Regions from separate parts of the Homo sapiens genome. Here region 1 is linked to region 2. The links are contacts of gene promoters, found by promoter capture Hi-C in blood cells and fetal thymus (Javierre and others, 2016). All regions are on one chromosome and are shown on one strand. The core of a region is centred on a gene start or on the middle of the fragment in contact, and the rest is flanking DNA. Distances in the headings are between cores, read along the strand shown. Region 1 holds the start of SMTNL1 (smoothelin like 1). Region 2 holds the start of RTN4RL2 (reticulon 4 receptor like 2).

The links. Contacts are between HindIII fragments. The CHiCAGO score rates a contact against its expected background, and 5 or more counts as called.
Region 1: the fragment with the promoter of SMTNL1 here is called in contact with the fragment with the promoter of RTN4RL2 in region 2 in 1 of 17 cell types (neutrophils); the score reaches 5.8 in neutrophils.

What each region holds. Positions count from the first base shown.
Region 1 is chr11:57,536,191-57,538,890 of GRCh38, forward strand. SMTNL1 (smoothelin like 1) reads left to right here and starts at 1,405. Exons shown (of 8, transcript NM_001105565.3): 1 at 1,405-1,452. The HindIII fragment of the contact is 14,036 bases long and covers 325-2,700 here.
Region 2 is chr11:57,459,097-57,461,796 of GRCh38, forward strand. RTN4RL2 (reticulon 4 receptor like 2) reads left to right here and starts at 1,432. Exons shown (of 3, transcript NM_178570.3): 1 at 1,432-1,800. The coding sequence starts at 1,770. RefSeq lists silencers at 280-339, 1,439-1,708. The HindIII fragment of the contact is 14,932 bases long and covers 1-2,700 here.

The DNA of each region.
Region 1 (2,700 bases), core at 155-2,654, 77 kb after region 2:
GATAAAATCCCTGCCCTCATGGAGCTTAAAGCCTAGTGAGAGAGTCAGATAATAAGGAAATGAATAAGGTAATTTTAGATTTAGTATTATGAGGACAATAAAAACTGCTGAAATGAGGGAGAGGAATTGAAGGTCATGGAAAACCTCTCTGAGGGAATGAAATTTCAGCTAAGTCCAGAAGAATGAGAGGGAGGCAGTCTTACAAAGAGTAGAAGGAAAAACCAGTCCTGAGTCTGAAAAGGGATGGATTTATTTAAGGAATAGGAAGGAGGCCAGTGTGGCCCAGTGGTGGGGCTTGGGGTAGGAGGACTGGGGGGGATCCCAAGCTTCGTGGGAGTGTCCTCTGCACCCATTCTCCAAAAGTAGTGCCTTTCTTAGATTGTAAAACACACAGAGAAAGTGAAGACTTTTTTTTGAGATGGAGTCTCTGTCACCCAAGCTGGAGTGCAGTGACTTGCTGCAACCTCTGCCTCCCAGGTTCAAGCAGTTCTCGTGCCTCAGCCTCCCAAGTAGCTGAGATTACAGGCATGCGCCACCAAGCCCGGCCAATTTTTGTATTTGTAGTAGAGACAGGGTTTCACCCTGTTGACCATGCTGTTCTTGAACTCCTGGCTTCAAGCAATCCACCCGCCTCGGCTGCCCAAAGTGCTGGGATTACAGGCATGAGCCACCATGCCCAGGCTTGTTTTGTTTTTTTCTTAGCAAAATGTCAGTTCAGTATAAAAATGTGTTCAGAGCCTACTGTGTACCTGTCACTTCAGCTCAAAATAGAACTCAGGAGTTTTGTATTTTCCAGGCTCCGTCCAGTGATCCGTCAGCTTGTCCCATCACTTTTGCCCTCTCTGCCCCTCCCCCTCCAAATCTCTCAGTCAACTGTGAGCCCCAAGACACATCCCCTGTGTTGGCAGCTGCCCTACTCGCCCCCTCCTTAGCCCAGCCTTAAGCAGCTGCTTTTGTCTGAGGACGAGGGAAAGGGGCTATGTAAGGAACGTGGCGGGGTGGGTGTGAAGGGAGCACAAGAGGCCTCGCCTGGGCTCTGGATGAGCAGTGGAGGCCAGGGCCATGCTCTAAATGAGTCCTGAAGATGGTTGTCAAGGTCCCTAGGGTTAGGAGAGTCCACTGGGGAGAAAGATGACCACAGGACGGATGCTGCCAGGCTCAGGGCGGAAGGGACGTGCCGTGATTGAAAGGTGCCACCTGTCAGATCTTCCACGGGAAATCCGAGCCTCCCAGTCTAGGGTAAAGTGTTGTACCAACAGGCCAGTAAACAATGCTCTTCAGGCAGCCCAAGACTCTTGAAGTGGGGGTGGGGTGGAAGAGGGAGAGGAAGGGGGGAGGCGGGACCAAAGAGCTGGGGGCTAGAGGCCACTGGGGCTTAAAGGCAGCCTGGGAGTGAGGCCACTCAGCTGGAGCAAAGAGACAGCTCCCAAGCCACAGGCAGAAGCCCCACAGGTAGGAGAAGCCCTGGCACCCTTTCTAAGGGTCCCTCCCCATCTGCCAATTCTCACTCCCACTGTCCAAGGGCCAGAGCCTCCCAGGAGGGCCCCCCATTTGGAGAAATCCAGGCTCCTTTCTAATTCTCTCCACCACAATGTCTACTCTCTTTAGATGCCTGGGGTCTCAGCCCTGCACCAGAGCACCTACAGAGCAGACTGCAAGTGGCCATCCACGAGGAGGCCACAGAGCAGGGGAGGGGACCTTGGGAGTCTCAAGAGTCAAACTGGGTTGGGGGGTAGACTGTCTAAGCCAAGCCTGTCCAGCCCACAGGCTACCTGTGGCCCAGGATGGCTTTGAATGTAGCCCAACATGAATTCATAAACTTTCTTAAAACATTATGAGATTTTTTTTTTTTTTGCAATTTTTGTTTTAGCTCATCCACTATCGTTAGTGTTAACGTATTTTACATGTGGCCCAAGACACTTCTACTTCTACCAGTGTGGCTCAAGGAAGCCAAAAGATTGGATACCCCTAGTCTAAGCAATTGAGGTCGGCCTCTCCAAGGGAGGGCCCCTGGCTGAGTGGGGAAGGTGGAAGCCTTAGGACAACCAGATGACAGATGAGGCTGCAGTGGGTGGCAGACGCACCACAGAACATCCAGTGTTTATACTACTGGGAGTTTGGATCTTGGGCTCCTGGGTCCCTTTCCTCCTGGTCTGCCAGAAGAAACAGGAAGAGAGAGGGAGGGGAGATATCTGCAGTGCTGCTTTGGACACAAAACAGGGATGGTTTGGAGACTTCCTGGGGAAGGAAGGAGGAAGGAAAGGAGAGAATAAGAAAGGAAGGTGGGGGCAGAGAAACTTTCATGAAGGGCCTACTGTGCACCTAGAAGAAAGAGGGAGGAACTCCTCGGCTGAATCTGACTGCCCTTCCCAACTGGTGGGGTGCCCCCACTCTGGGCCAGGGCCTTTGTAGGGACACTGGGCTGCGGAGCTAGTGGGAGCATATATTTGATGTGAGCTCTGGAGTGGAAGTTGGGATACTTGGATTCTAGATAGAGAGCCAGGCCACTTGTCCTATAACTTTAGTCAAGGGACTTCAACTCCCTGAGCCTGAAATCCCCATTGGCTCCCTAATGGGGCCAATAACCTATTCTGAAGGGTCGGAGCAAGAAATGACCAAGAGAAAGCAGGGCCTCCGCAGCATAAGCTGTAAACTGCTGTAGGGCTGTGAATGCTGGGGGTGGGTGGTGGCGTCCTGGTT
Region 2 (2,700 bases), core at 182-2,681:
GAACAGAGAGACAGAGACCACGAAATATGAGTAAGAGTCGGGGGAGAAAACCAGAGAAATCGAATGAGAACGCGAGAAGAACGAGAGACCGTGGAGGGAGCAGAGAATGAATGGGAAGAATAAGACCAACATTTATCAAGAGCCGACTGTATGCCAGGCACTGCATTGGACCCTGGCACGGATAGGAAAGGAGGAGCCGCGGCGCGGGCAGCGGGGCGAGGGGCTTCTGTGCTCGCGGGAGCGGCAGCCCAGGGGGCTCAGCAGCCCCGGCACCGCCGCACCTGAGGCTCCAGCAGCCCCAACCCCGCCAGCGCTGCCTGGCCACCGTACCCGAAGCGGCTCCCCCGAGGGCCCCGAGCCTATCCTACGCCGGGGCGGCTCCGCGGACGCGCCGGGCCGAGTCAAGACCTGGGTCAACCGCCCTGCAGCCTTTGTAGGGAAGTGCCTAGGTGATGGGTCTGCTGATACCGCCTGTGACCAGGCCATGAAGGGCCAGAGGGGCTCCAGTGAGACCATAATCCGCCCCTCTTTAAAAGGGGGTAGAGGAAGTTCACGCGAAGCCAACAGTCTTCTCCCCAGCTTTGGGTCCTCTCCTGCACCCCCGCGGGAGATAAGGTCTCCCCTCCCGGACACATCATACATACACAAAAAAACGCACACACTCGCACGCGCGCCCATCTCGCACCCGCTTGTAAATGCACTAAGGGGCATACACACACCGGGCACATATTTCTTTCCACCCATCCCCAAGATCGCAAGCGCAAAACCTCGCACAGCCTCACGTTTCCCACCAGCTCAGACATGCACGCTGGCGGACTTTCAGCGGCTCACCCGTGTGCACACTCACGTGCCCCCCCCCCCGCTTCCCCAAGCCCGTACAAAGGGTAACGGGCAAGCATCCTGAGTCACACCTGCACAAGCATCCTTGCGCGCACGTGCACGCTCATATGCACTCGATCTTGCACGCACAAACTCTTGCATATACTATTCTTATAGTCGCACACTGGGCTTGAGGTCTGGGAGTGGAAGGAAAAGTGGAATCTTGGAGCTGTCCCAGGGGACAGAAATGCTGGAGGCTGGGACACTGGCGCGAGGGACGCGGCTGGGGGCGGGGGAGGGGGTGACCCAGAAGCTCATCTTCTCCTGGAAAGTTGGGAGGGGGGAACAGGACAAGTCCACGGCGTTCCTCTAAACTACCGCATTCCCCCAAGAAGGGATTTCTCTAGAAGAGTGGCGCCGCGAGGACGATCGAACACAGTCCTCCGGGTCGCTTAAGCGGGGGGGAGGGGGGCGGGGTGGAGGGGGTTAGAAAGCCGCTCCCGCCTCCTAGTGGTCGAGAAAGGGTTAAGTCGGCAAGCCAGCAAACGAGGGAGGAGCCAGCGAGTGCGGGAAGGAGTGGGGGTGGTTGGGAAGAGCTTCCTCGCTGTCCCCACTCTCCCTCGGCTAGCAGCCTGGGCACACGGACAGACGGACTGACGGACTCTCGAGCGGACAGCGCAGCTAGCGGGGCGCGGGCGCTGGGCGTCGACGGCCAGCCCCAGCCTTCCCCGCCCCGTCGCGCCCCGCCCCGTCCCGTCGGGGCCGATGGCTCCTCCCGAGGCCCGCAGCCCGGGCGGCGCAGGGTAGAGCGCCGCGGCCCGGCCACGCAGCCCGGGGACTCCCGGGCCCTCCCGGAGCCCCGCGGGGTCCCCGCCGTGCATCCGGCGGGCTCAGGGAGCGAGTGGGAGCGCCCTCCCCCCGCTGCCCCCTCCCCCGAGCATCGAGACAAGATGCTGCCCGGGCTCAGGCGCCTGCTGCAAGGTAAGAACGCCAGCGGCGGGAGAGCGGAGGGCATCCTGGGGAGAGAAGCAGGGCGTCCCCTCTTTCAGGGATTGAGGGTGGGGCAGTTGGGGAGGTGGGGTAACCTGGGGAAGGGGAAAAGCTCAGCGCTGGGGCCGCGCCCCCGCCGCCAGGGCTGTTCTCAGCAGGAGGGCACTTGGCTGGGAGCCCGCGGGCGCGTGCGAGGAGCTCGTGACCGAGGTGGGACGCAGGGGGCAGGTGGACCCGGCCCGGAGCGGGGAGGGAGGCTCAGGTTCCGCTGTCCCCGCTCCACCTGCTCCGGGGGACGCTGAGGACTCGGGCCGGCTGGGGAAGCGCCGACTCAGCAACTCCTCCTGCCCGGTGCCTCAGCACTTTCTGGCCACCTGGGAAGACAGGAGATGTGGGTAGGGGGCTGTCTGGGGAGGTAGGAGGCGCAGAGGGAAATCCAAGTGGCCCTCTCTGGTAGGAGAGATGGAGGGCGCTAGAAAGAGGATAGTTCTACTGATTGAGTGACAGATAAGGGTGTGGGCCAGAGACTGGGGGTGGGGTGGGGAGGGGTCAGGGGGAGAGGGATAGGAAGGAGAACTCAAAGATGGAGAAAGTGGTGAGGGAAGCTCAAAGGAGGAGGGAGATGGAGCGGGGGAGGGGGAGAAGGAATAAAGGTTAGATGGGAAAAGCGTGGAGGGAAGTGGGACCCAGGTGAAGACCAAGGAAGAGGGAAGGAGAGGAAAGACCAGATCAGGGGAGGGATGGGAAGAAGACTATGGACAGGGACCCAGAATCCTGGGATGGAGGTAGCGGGAAAGAGAATCAGGACTGGGACCCTGGGGACTGGAATGGAAAAGGAGAATGGAAAGATCAGAAACCAGAGAAGGATGGGGATGGTGACTAGAGAAGGGG